Regions from separate parts of the Homo sapiens genome. Here regions 1 and 3 are each linked to region 2. Evidence: promoter capture Hi-C in 16 types of primary human blood cells and fetal thymus (Javierre and others, 2016). All regions are on one chromosome and are shown on one strand. The core of a region is centred on a gene start or on the middle of the fragment in contact, and the rest is flanking DNA. Distances in the headings are between cores, read along the strand shown. Region 1 has its middle 94 kb from the start of TACC1. Region 2 holds the start of NSD3 (nuclear receptor binding SET domain protein 3). Region 3 has its middle 25 kb from the start of ASH2L.

Region 1 (3,994 bases), core at 979-3,478, 310 kb before region 2:
AAGTGACACCGATCACTCCTACTGAAGCACTGAAGCGCAGGAGAGAGGTCCAGGCTGCCGAGGAGACCGAAGGAGTCCTGTGTTGTAGATGTCCTAGCTGTTGCCGGTACTGATGGTAGAGCCTCCATCAGCCTGGATCCTTGAGTTACTGATGGAGCAGAATTCCCTCAACACATACATGCCCAACTTGGACTTGCAATGGACATATAGCATATGCAAGAAATAAACTTTTTTTGTTTTCGGCTTTGGGATCCAGGGGTTAATTTCTTATCACAGCACAACCTAGCCTATTCTAATACAAGTATCTTGTAAATGTGAGTCATATAGAGACTGGTGGCAGGTCACCTGTATGACCTGTCACTGGAAGGAGGTCAAGCCTGTCTACTATGAAAGAGGACAAAAGGTAGATTCCTATCAGGGAGGAGCAACAGTCCAAATGACCAAATTCAAGGGCCTGGAACAGTGAAGTCAACCCTGGGATGGCTGGAGGCAGGGCAAATGTTCTGGGTGACACTCAGTCTCTGGAGGTGCTCATCCCAGGCACACCAGACTCCAGACTCAGATCAGCCAAGCAGACCAACCCAACCCCCAGGGAAGGCAAGGATCCCCAACGACCTGTTTATCCTGGACTCATTGGTTCTGATCCTGAATCAGTTGGTGGCATGTTTTTGGGGCCCCAGAAAGTAAAAGAAGCTTCATAGGTCACTTCGGATGTACAGGATGTTGGGCAGTGATGAGAGTTTATTAACTGATCTTTCTTTTCTTTGCATAGACTCTGAGTGCCAATTATCCAAATGGGAGTTAAGACACACTCAGCCTCCCTACCTAGGCTCTTTGCAATGCACTGTAAATGAGAAATGACCAACCCTTATGTGATGGGATACAGTGCTGCTCTATCCATTTGTGAGCCTGAAATTATCCAGCTGCCCTGTCTATAGCTATGGGAGTTTTAGTACACTGGATAGAAGGAACCTAGAAAGAGAATTAGGGAAAACTGTTTTTCTCTTGACATCATTGATGACATGGTTTGCAGTGACTGACAGTATCTATCTTGTGCCCAAAATGAGGTGGCATTCAGCTGATGACAGCAGAATGATGCACATAAGCAAATTCCTCATGGTGCCCAACTGTCTTTTTTTTTTTTTTTTTTTTTTGAGACAAAGTCTCACTTTTGTCCCCCAGGCTGGAGTGCAATGGTGCAATCTCAGCTCACTGCAACCTCCGCCTCCCAGGTTCAAGCGATTCTCCTGCCTCAGCTTCCTGAGTAGCTGGAATTACAGGTGCCTGCCACCATGCCTGGCTAATTTTTGTATTTTTTGTATTTTTAGTATTTTATCTTTTGTATTTTTTGTATTTTTAGTAGAGACGGGGTTTCACCATGTTGGCCAGGCTGGTCTTGAACTCCTGACCTCAGGTGATCCACCCGCCTCAGCCTCCCAAACTGCTGGGATTACAGGCGTAAGCCACCATGGCTGGCCTCCAAGCTGTCTTCTTACTAGAACTGGGAGAAAGAGGAAAGGATGATGGGGGTAAACCTCTCATGAATCCCTGGGCTGGAACTGCAGAAGGATTTATACTTCTGTATAGAATTGTCTTTGCAGAAATCTACTTCTCTGAATTAGCTGAGAATGCAGAACCCAGAGTCTGGCAATAGTGAGATGAAAGAGTTCACTGGGACCAAATTGTGTTTTTCTACTTTGCAGAACTTTAAGCTAAAGTCTTTCAGGGTTCTTAATGTTTTTCTTTCTTTCTCTTTTTCTCTTTCCTTTTTTTTAGAGACAAGATCTTGTTCCACTGCCCAGGCTAGAGTGCAGTGGCATGATTATAGGTCTGTATTAGTTTGACTCATACTGTTATGAAGAAATACCCAAAACTGAGTAATTTTAAAGAAAAAGAGATTTAATGGACTCACAGCTCCACCTGGCTGGAGAGGCCTCACAATCATAGCAGAAGGCAAAGGAGGAGCAAAGGTACGTCTTACATGGTGGCAGGCAAGAGAGCATGTGCGTGTGCAGGGGAACTACCTTTTATAAAACCATTAGATCTCGGGAGACATATTCATTATCATGAGAACAGCATGGGAAAAACCTACCTCTTGATTCAATTACCTCCCACTGGGTTCCTCCCACAATACATGGGGATTATGGTAGCTACAATTCAAGATGAGACTTGAATGTGGACATAGCCAAACCATGTCAAGGTCACAGTCCTGGACTCACACTCCTGGACTCAAGCAATCCTTCCCACTCAGCCTCCTGAGTAGCTTAGACTACAGGCACATGTCATTGCACTCAGCTAATTTTTTTATTTTTAAAATTTTTATAGAGACAGGGTCTTTCTATGTTTTCCAGGGTGGTCTTGAACTTCTGTCCTCAAGTAATCCTGCCTCGGCCTCCCAAAGTAGGTTTTTAATTTTTATTAGGTAATTATTTTCAAAGTCAAAAAGGTACAGTTACCCTTACTGAAAATTTGCCGCTGCAAGAGAAGTAGGATCTTGTTAGAAATTACTTATGTTATTTTGCTTCCTCTATCCAAATCTACTGTGGTAGGCAGGCTAGCTGGGAGACTGAAAACCACAACTTCATTCCCAGATACACTGCTGTAAAATAATTAAGTCAGATGTTAATGTTACAGGACCACCAGGTTCAATTGCCCATTGTGTGGTAACATACCAATACACTGGAACAGCAGGAGTTGCAGCAGAGAAAGAGTTTAACAATTGCAAGGCAGCCAAATGAGGACATGGGAAAAAACCTCAAATCTGCCCCCGCAAGAGGTTTGGGGATGGAGTGTTTAAGGGATCTTGTTTGGTAAAGGACTAAAAAGTATGATCATCACTGATTGAGAAGTGAGGGGTGACATCATGGGACAGGGAGATAAAGAAACTGCATTCCTGTGCTGAGTCAGTTCCTTGATGGGGGTCTTCAGACCAGCTGGAGTCAGCCATTCTGCTGGAATTCAGGATCTGAAAAACACCTCAAGCAAAGCAATTCTTGGGTAAAAAGGTACAGTCGTTAGAGATTCTATCTATGGGAACAATGGGGGAGCACGTGGTCAGTGAGCTACATGACTTCTGGTTACTTAGCAGCTGCAGAGAAATGGGTCAAAGTGCATCAGTTTTTATATCCCAGACAATGCCTAGCTATAATTCTGCCTAAAGCCTGGCTTATAATTCCAGTTAACCCTGTGACAGTGGTTTCATTAATGTGGTGAATCCATTTAAACACAGCTAAATTCAAAATGCATATATATTTTAATATGCTTGTAATGCACATGAAAATGCCTGTACTTTTAGAGTAGGAGGTAGATTTCTGACCCTGTCTTCCCCCATTCTGATTTAATAAAGAATTTGGAGAGGGTGAGTAGTGTCAGTTTAAAATATGTGGCAAGGTTGAGGTGGGAGGAACACTTGAGCCCAGGAGTTCAAGGCTGCTGTGAGTAAGGACCAAACCATTGCATTCCAGCCTGGGTGACAGAGCAAGACCCTATCTCTAATAAAAAAAGAAAGAAAGGAAAAAAAATTCATGTCAAGAACCAAACTAGTGGTTTTCTATCTTTTAAATCCATATTAATAGCACTAAATTGTACTTTAATTGTGATTTCCAAATGTCACCTCAATACTCTGTGAAGTAAAAGATAAAGCCACACATTCTGAAATGTTCTGTAGTTACATTTTATTTTTTAGGCATTCTGAATGTGCTTTATTCCTGATGGTTACTCATATGAGGATTACTGGAAACCGGAAGTGGCAGACAAAGCTTCTTGCTCAGAGCTTTAAGGCCGGATCCAGAACTGGAGCCAGTTCCACTTACTGTGATTGCCACAGGCCAGGGGGAATGGTGCCAAGGACAGGTCTTGGTGTATGGAGCTGTAAGTTGTACCTGATGGCTTGAAAATGTACCCTGATTTCAGATTGGCCCCATGCTGAAGTGTAGAACAATGGTTCCCAAAGGTCAATCTCTATGCATATTCATGGCAAAAGTTGTGAGGCTTG
Region 2 (4,445 bases), core at 488-2,987:
TAACTTGTGGTACTACTTAAAGCATACGTTTAAAAATATTTAATGATTAATAGTAATGAGATTTTTTTTTTTTTTTTTGAGACATAGCCTCTCTGTGTCGCCCAGGCTGGAGTGCAGTGGCGCGATCTCGGCTCACTGCAAGCTCCGCTTCCCGGGTTCACGCCATTCTCCTGCCTCAGCCTCCTGAGTAGCTGGGACTACAGGCGCCCCCCACCACGCCCGGCTAATTTTTTGTATTTTTAGTAGAGACGGGGTTTCACCGTCTTAGCCAGGATGGTCTCGATTTCCGGACCTCGTGATCCGCCTGCCTCGGCCTCCCAAAGTGCTGGGATTACAGGCGTGAGCCACTGCGCCCAGCCAATACTGATAATTCTCAGTATCTAGTATTAACCGGGTTACGTTTAAAAAAAATAGTTCATAATTAGTGCCCTTTTAAATAACTGATCTGTAGAAATCATTTAATTTCCTTAAGTGATATTTAAAGATAGAGATATCTAATTTCTTGTAATAGTACCAAAGACATCCAGCACTATAACGTCTACAGAGTATGACGTCTAGCGGTAAAATGGCTTTATTCTCAGAACAGAGTATCGGTTTCCTCATTTGCTTGCTGCCTCTGTTTCCTTTTTACGTTCACGTCTCTGTGCTGTAACCTTCCAAATCCTTATCACCAGGCCCCAGGAAATATCACCTGGTCGGCACACTCCTGCAGGGCCAGATCACTGTGCACACACTTAACCTTCCATTGTTTTCCATACGTTTCCTAGGATGCGGGGGGCTAGAGGATGACGGAGAGTTGCCTCCCGGTTCTTCCTCTCGTTCTTATCTTGGGCCCTCTAGGACAAATGTCCCTCACGTCCCTCGATGCGAAGGTCTGGCCGCGAGCAGCCGCGGCCTCCGGCACGTGACGGTCACGGAGCCGTCGCGGTCCCCCGCGGCTGGGGGGCACCCGGGGATGCGGCGGGCGCTGACGTCGTCCTCCCGGTTACCCACAAGCCTCCGGGCCGCAGCAGAGCAGGAAGAGGCGCGCGGGGCCGGCGCCTGCCGGGGAGGTCGAGGCGCTCCCTCGGCGAGCCGGCGCCGCCGGCCGGGTCTCCTACTGCTTGCAACCGGGGGAGGGGGACCATCCGACAGCTCAGCCGGGGCTGAGAGGGAGACGACGCCAAGGCGGTCTTGCATCGCCCCCGGCTTTCCAAATGCAGACCCTACCGGAACCGGAGCCCTTCCCTGACAGCCGTAGGACGGGAGACGGCCGAGGGGTCGCCTGGACTGCCCCGCCCTCGCGCGGTGACCCACCGGGGACCGTGCGAGGGTCGCTTCTAACCCTTAAGAGCTAGAGAGCCGAGTCACCCTGAGGAGCGCCGTATGGCGCTGGTTGCGCGTTGTTCTTTAATCAGCCTCACTGAACGCGCCGATCCCAGTTTTACCTCCCGGGCCCCACCTTTCCACGCCTCCTCCGGCTTCCCGGGGTGTTTTGTGTGTCACTCTCCCACGTACAGTCCCTCCCCGTCCCTCGTTCCTCGGCCCTCTCGCCCGGTCTCCCTAGTCGTCCAGACGCTAGCTGCCGCGGGCGTTCCTGGTTCGCGCTCCCGCCCCCTCCGCCCCGCCGACTCGCCGCTTCCTCCGGAGCCCCAGCGTCCCGAACCAGGGACTGCATTTCCCGGCAGGCGCCGCGGCCCGCGGCCAATGAGGGGCTGAGGATTTGGCGGCGGCGGCGCCCCGAGAGTCGGGGTGGGGGGGCTTTGTGCGCGGCGGCGGCGGGAGAGGCGGCGGCGGCGGCCAGCACGGAGGCGGAGGCCGAGGGGGCTGTGCACAGGTCGCCGCGGAGAGGCGTGCGAATTCCGAGCCGAGCGCCGAGGACCGTGCTACCCAGGCCGGGCTGCCAGCCGCAGGCTCCTCTCTGGCAGCAGCGGCGGCGCGGCGACCCCCGTCCCTCGGCCTCCCCTTCCCATCCCACCTCCCGAGCCTTCCTCTTCCCGCAGCACGCCCGGCCCGGCCCGGCCGTGGCCCTCCTCAGTGCCGGCCGCCATGGCAGAGGCGTCCGGCGCGGGGAAAATCTAGCCCGGGGATTTCATGCGGCCTAGCTCGGTTCCGCCTCCTCCTCGCGCGGCCCCAGCGGCTGCCCGCACCCCAGCCCCACTCCGGGCCTCCGTGTCTCTCCTGTGATCGCACTGACACGGCCGGGGGGTTAGAATGGAACAAACTGAAGGTAAAGTGCGTGTGCGTGTGTGTATGTGTGTGTGTGTGTGTGTGTGTGTGTGCGCGCGCGCGCGTGTGTAGTGCTAGGAAGGGCTGAGGAGGGAACGACGGGGAGGGGGCGACCTAGGGATGGAGCGCCAGACCCCAGGAGGAATGGAAGGGGAAGCGGGTGGCCTGAAAGGGCTCGAGGGGAGTCCTGACGGAGGAGCAGATGGCAAGGTGGGGGGTGTGGAGGGAATTGGGGGGTGGGCCAGGGGAGGTGGGGAGTGGGATGGGAGTCGGAGTGGCGCTGAGCTGGGAATTGGGAAAGTGGGATGGGGGCGGGGATAAGGATGGATCGGGGAGGGGCAGGGAAAGGGGAGAAGAGTTGCATGGAGATTACAGACCTGGGTGGACTGATAAATAGGGAGATTTGGGGATGGAGTGTAGGAACCAGAAGAGTCTGGGAGAAGGGGATAAATTTGCTGGAGAAATGGGGCATTTTATGGGAATGAAGGGAGAAATGAGGAATGGAAGTGAAGGAAAAGGTGGATTAGGAAAGGGGATGAGGCAGGCTGCAATAGGAGAATGGGAAATAGACGCAGGAAACTGGAAGACAGGATTGGGCTAGGGAAGGAAATTAACTGAATGATGACAGGGATGAGAACGATCGACTTAGCGTCAGAGTGGGAGGAAGAGAAGGGGATGGAGGTCGTTAAAGTGTTAGGAAGGGAGGCCTTTTGTTCCTGTATTTGTGTGTATTCTGTGTCTTTCTTTCAAGGCTAGAGAATAGAGAAGCTGGTGGTTATGGGATTGTGATTGTTGTGAAATGGGGAGGTGTGGGTTTTACTGTTTTGAGGGAGAAGGCGATGTGTTTGTGTTATGGAAGGGAGGCAGGGAGAGACATGGCCATAATTTGATGGTTTTGGGGAGGGAGTGAAGATTATTTCGATTTAAAGGGGGCAGGGGCAGCCATGTTTGCTGCCAAGGCACTGCAGTGTAAATAAATTCCTTTTCCTCTCCGACATCAGTATGAATCTGGAAGGGGCCAATTCAGACTGTTAGCCCCCTTTCTTTCTATTCATGAACTCTTTTCCCCTTACGTCTTGGGTCATTTTAAATTATTCATAACCGCCAAAGGAGGTAGTGATGTTTTCCATCACTACCTTTTTGATGCTTTTCTCCCTCTCTTTACCCTCTTCCTTCTGGTTGCAAACAAGGTATGCTAATGAGCTGCAGTGTAAATTTAACCCATTTAATCAATTTAAAACTAGATTTTTACTAGCTGAAGGAATCATTACTACGCTTACATATCAAACATGATCGTGAAGTCTTTTACGTATTGAAAATTCGTTTGTTTCGGAAGCCTCAGAAGCAGTCAACATGTTTTCTGCAATTCTTTAAGTAAACAAGGAAATTGCATCGGTTATTTTACTTGGGCCTGTGCTCTTGGCAAAGCGCTGTGTCCGGGTGAAAGGGGTAGGAAGCTCTGCTTGTGGTAGATTATCGGCTTGCTGTATTTTGAATGTTGAAAAATTAGAAATGTATGTATTTTTAAATAGTATTTCTGATAGCTCTTGCTTATAGGTGATGAGCGTGTTAAGTGATGAGTGTGTTAAGAATAGTATTTTCTTTTTTAAATAAACTCTCTTTTCCCCATCTCTTCTCTTTGCCTTCATGTAGCTGGCTCAATACAATCTCCAGATGCCAGTTCAGCACAGTGCAATGATCTGTGAAGTAGGCATGCAGTTCTTAGAGTCTCATTGAGATGCCAGGGTTTTTTTGTTGTTGTTTTGTTTGTTCGTTTTTTGATTGAAACTTCAGTTGACTCTCAGGAAACTACAGTAACTAATATATTCAACTGTAACTACTTGTACAATTTGAAATAATTACTATTCTAAGGTTTAAATCCTGACAAATTTACAGAACATACATTGGTGTTAAGTAGAGCCTATTTTATTTCATATTGGATTAAATGTGTGTGTGACCTTTTGTTTTTATTATAGCAGTTGGAGTAATCCAAACTTTAACCTATCACATTGATATTGAAACTGTTCTCTAATACCAAGAAGGCCTGTTAACATTGTAATATGGTGGACTCAAACCAGTTGAACTACATTTAACCTACCTAAATGGCAACATCCTCTCAGTTGTTATACAGAAGCTTAGGATATATTCTTGGTTTGTTAGAAAAATGAAATTGAATGTTGTTAAAGTGGTACTTTGTAAATCTGGCTTTTACACTAAAAGCACCCTCTCAGCTTGTA
Region 3 (4,285 bases), core at 1,291-3,790, 300 kb after region 2:
GCCTCCTGAAAAAATTATCAAATACTATGGGCCAGCTACATGGGCTCAAGATGGATCATGGGGCTACCGCACCCCTATTTACATGTTAAACCGAATTATAAGATTGCAAGCAGTACAGAAGTCATAGTCAATGAAACACCCCAAGCCTTGGATCTGTTAGCTTTACAGGCCACTCAAATGAGAGATGCTATATACCAAAATAGGCTAGCATTAGACTACCTCCTAGCCTCAGAAGGAGGAGTTTGTGGCAAGCTTAATTTGACCAACTGTTGCTTACAAATCGATAATAACAGAAGAGCTGTTATGGAAATTACTGCTAGAATGAGGAAGTTAGCCCATGTCCCAGTCCAGACTTGGTCCTGGTGGAGCCCAAACTCACTTTTTGGAGGATGGTTCTCATGCTTGGAAGGCTTTAAAACCTTGATAATTGTTTTTATAGCTATAGTAGGAGGATGTCTAATACTGCCTTGTCTTTTACCTCTCCTCATCAGAAGCATCCAGTCTACTATTAAAGCAATAGTGGACGGAACAACTACCACCAAAATAATGGCATTACAAAAATACCAACCAGTCCCCCAGGAAGAATACGTGCCTACACAGGAAGAGATAAACGACTGTGGTGCTCTTTATCAATCTACATTTATGGCGAGCACCAAAGGGGGGGGGATGAAGAAGGAATTCATGAATTTTACAAGTACAATCAAAGACCACCAAGAAATTTTTACTTTTTCCTTCAAAAGCTAAATGTAGTTTAGAACCTGCACCCCACGTAGTCTAAGTTAGAGAACAATACTAACTGCCTGTTTTTCCTTCTGTGCTCAGCAAGCCTTATCTGTACTCACCAGTTTCACATTCCTTGAGGCTCAGCGAGTTCCTGCTTCACCTCCCTAGCGCAGCTGCAAAGTTACAAGGTTGATAAGCGTATGTTACAGAAACAGAGTTTCCCAAGGATGTAGAACATGTAGTATACATAAATGTAAAAGACTGATCAACTGCCTTTGTTCTCACTTCTGTAAGTACGCTTCCTGCACCAGGTAGCTCTCAGCCACTGACTGCTTAAAAGGTGGCTGCTTTCTTTGCCGAGGCTCAGACTTTCCTGGATGCTAGTCCTACTGAGCCAGGTGATCACCTTAATAAAGGCTTTCCTGAACTCTGTTCGTCTTTCCCGTCTCTGATTGTCCCGCAACAGCAGAAAGGAAGACATTTATTTGCAGTGCACCAAGCAGGAAGGACCAGGTAGCTCGCTCTCAAATCCTGACTTCCCCAGTAGCTTGCAGGTAAGGGTTCTTAAAGGCAGGGGTAAAATTCGGGAAAGCAGAAGTTACAGGCAAAGTCATAAGTCAGTACATGAAGCTTACACATTGGTTTTGGCTTAAAAGAGTCGGGTATCTTGAAGGCGAGGAGGGTTCGGGGGAATGTAGGGGTGTTACAAGCAACAGGTAAATTCAAAGATTTTCTGATTTGCAATTGTTTAAGGGAGAAAAATTTGGGGTCAGAAGAAAAGAATGTTAGCTCAATGTTGTGACTGTGACTTGCTCTAGGCCCCTCAGGAAGAACTTTAGAATAAAGGACAGCTGTCAGAGTTCAGTCCTCAGTTTCTCCTTATCTGAGGTCTGTGTGCCAGCAGATCCATTGGGTGGGGGTCCAGTCTCTGAAAAACAGTTCAGGGACACGCGCTAAGATGTTATCTTCAGTTTACATAGGGAACCAAACATTTCCTGGCTCTAGCTTCCTTTGCTGTTGTTTTAGGCTACTATTACATTCTTGCTTATCACGTTGCTCGTTTATTTATCAAGGCTAGCTAGGTGCTTGGAATTTTCTTTGAGGGAACTCAAGATTTTCCTTTATTTCCACGCTTGGGAGGGACTTGGCAGGCCTCTAACAAGTAGGTGGGGGAGTGGAGAGGGAGGGTGCGGTCCCTGCTTTGTCTCTCAGCACTTTGGGAGGCCAAGTTAGGAGGATCACTTGGGCCCATGGGTTGGAGACCAGCCTGGGCAACATAGTGAGACCCCGACTCTACAAAAAATTTAAAAAATTAGCTGGACTGGGCGTGATGGTTCACGCCTGTAATCCCAGCACTTTGGGAGGCCAAGGCAGGTGGATCACTTGAGGTCAGGAGTTCAAGACCAGCCTAGACAACATGGTGAAACCCCGTCTCTGCTAAAAATACAAAAATTAGCCGGTCATGGTGGCGGGCGCCTGTAATCCCAGCTACTCAGGAGGCTGAGGCAGGGGAATTGCTTGAACCCGGGAGGTGGAGGTTGCAGTGAGCTGAGATCACACCACTGCACTCCAGCCTTGGTGACAGAGTGAGACTCTGTCTCAAAAAAAAAAGAAAAAAAATTAGCCGAGTGTGATGGTGCATGCCTGTAGCCTTAGTTATTCAGGAGGCCAAGGCAGGAGGATTGTTTGAGCCCAGGAGGTCAAGGTTGCAGTGAGATGTGTTCACGCCACTCAGCCTCCTAAGTAGCTGGGACTACAGGTGTGTGCCATCGCACTTGGCTAATTTTAAAATTTTTGTAGAGACAGGATTTACTATGTTGCCCAGGTTGGTCTTGAACTCATGGACTCAAGCGATCCTCCTGCCTTGGCCTGCCGAAGTGCTTGGATTACAGTCGTGAGCCACTGCTCCCAGCCTGTACTGACCACAGGGCCTTCAATACCCAAGGGAGAGAACTTGTATGAAAACAAGTTATGTCCCATCCCCGTACCAGGTAAGAAAATAAGTTTTATCTGATGCATGGGAGTCCTTTTAAATTATCAGGCCCAAAGAGGCATTAAAATGAAATAGCAATCACGTCCTACTTTCCCCCACCCCATTTTGAGCTATGTGTTCATCTCTTGAAATTGCTTGCTATTGCTAAAAGTAGCCATAAATTAACCTAACAGTGCTGCAACAGCCACTATAACCCACACCCTATAGCTTAACAATGTATATAGCCAATCAGCAGCTTATGTTATTTTGATGGAAATTCTTGGTAAACAACTCAGGAACTGCCTCTTCTTTCCCTTTAAAAATCCACTTGTGGACCAGCACGGTGGCTCACACCTGTAATCCCAGCACTTTGGGAGGCTGAGGTGGGTGGATCACCTGAGGTCAGGAGTTCAAGACCAGCCTGGCCAACATGGTGAAACCCCATCTTTACCAAAAATTCAAAAATTAGCCAGGTGTTGTGGTGGGCACCTGTAATCTCAGCTACTCGGGAGGTTGAGGCAGGAGAATCGCTTGAACCCAGGAGAAAGAGGTTGCAGTGAGCCGAGATTGAGCCATTGCACTCTAGCCTGGGCGACAAGAGCAAAACTCTGTTTCAAAAAACAAAAAAAAGTCCACTTGTGGCTGGGCATGGTGGCTCACGCTTGTAATCCTAGCACTTTGGGAGGCTGAGACAGGCAGATCACCTGAGGTTGGGAGTTCGAGACCAGCCTGACCAACATGGAGAAATCCTGTCTCTACTAAAAATACAAAATTAGCCAGGCATGGTGGTGCGTGTCTGTAGTCCCAGCTACTCAGGAGGCTGAGGCAGGAGAATTGCTTGAACCTGGGAGGTGGAGGTTGTGGTGAACTGAGATCACGCCATTGCACTCCAGCCTGGGTAACAAGAGCGAAACTCCCTCTCAAAAAATAAATAAATAAATAAATAAATAAATCCACTTGTAACTGCTGCTAATTGGAATGTATATTCAGGAAACTTAAATCTGTGCTCCCATGTTACAATCCTCAAGCTTGGTGCAAATAAACTCTCTACTTATATTAATTTAGCTTCAGTTTATTCCATTTAAATATTAATTTAGCTTCAGTTTTTCCTCCAACACAGCCTTTGTTGAAGGCCTCTAGGCTCTCTCCTAACAAAGAACAGTGGGTCAGATGCCCTGGACTCGACTCCAAGGACTCACTCTCTCCCCCACTACGATGCCCCCATGTTGTTATCATCAATTAAGCAAAACAAAGCTTTCTGTGTTTGTTAAAGTCATGATGAAGATAATTATGCGGTAGTTCATCTCAATGGAGCAGTCATTCAGTCTCTGCTGAAGCTTCTGGGCCTTCATTTCTAGTGTTTATACACTGAGCCAACTAAGCATTCCTGGTTACTTCTACTTCCAGTAACCAGATATCTGAGTCCCATCAAACACAGTAAAAAGAGTTTTCTTCTTATTATTATTAGGAAAAGGTGAGCTCCATAAAAGGTGGGTATATATATTTTGAGATGGAGTCTCACTCTGTCAGCCAGGTTGGAGTGCAGCGGCGCGATCTTGGCTCACTGAAACCTCCGTCTCCAGGGTTCAA

Evidence for each region. Contacts are between HindIII fragments. The CHiCAGO score rates a contact against its expected background, and 5 or more counts as called.
Region 1: a contact is called between a fragment that was not itself captured here and the fragment with the promoter of NSD3 in region 2, in 4 of 17 cell types (endothelial precursors, M2 macrophages, M1 macrophages and 1 more). The highest score is 10.6, in endothelial precursors.
Region 3: a contact is called between a fragment that was not itself captured here and the fragment with the promoter of NSD3 in region 2, in 10 of 17 cell types (erythroblasts, non-activated CD4 T cells, megakaryocytes and 7 more). The highest score is 9.8, in erythroblasts.

The regions. Positions count from the first base shown.
Region 1 is chr8:38,691,632-38,695,625 of GRCh38, reverse strand. No RefSeq gene overlaps it. Among named protein-coding and RNA genes, the nearest start is that of TACC1, 94 kb to the left of the region's middle. The HindIII fragment of the contact is 3,065 bases long and covers 696-3,760 here.
Region 2 is chr8:38,379,563-38,384,007 of GRCh38, reverse strand. NSD3 (nuclear receptor binding SET domain protein 3) reads left to right here and starts at 1,737. Exons shown (of 24, transcript NM_023034.2): 1 at 1,737-2,209. It also overlaps a transcript of LETM2 not described here. RefSeq lists silencers at 831-1,180, 1,371-1,520, 1,551-1,950 and enhancers at 1,599-2,389, 2,680-3,214. The HindIII fragment of the contact is 5,398 bases long and covers 1-4,344 here.
Region 3 is chr8:38,078,721-38,083,005 of GRCh38, reverse strand. No RefSeq gene overlaps it. Among named protein-coding and RNA genes, the nearest start is that of ASH2L, 25 kb to the left of the region's middle. The HindIII fragment of the contact is 2,370 bases long and covers 1,356-3,725 here.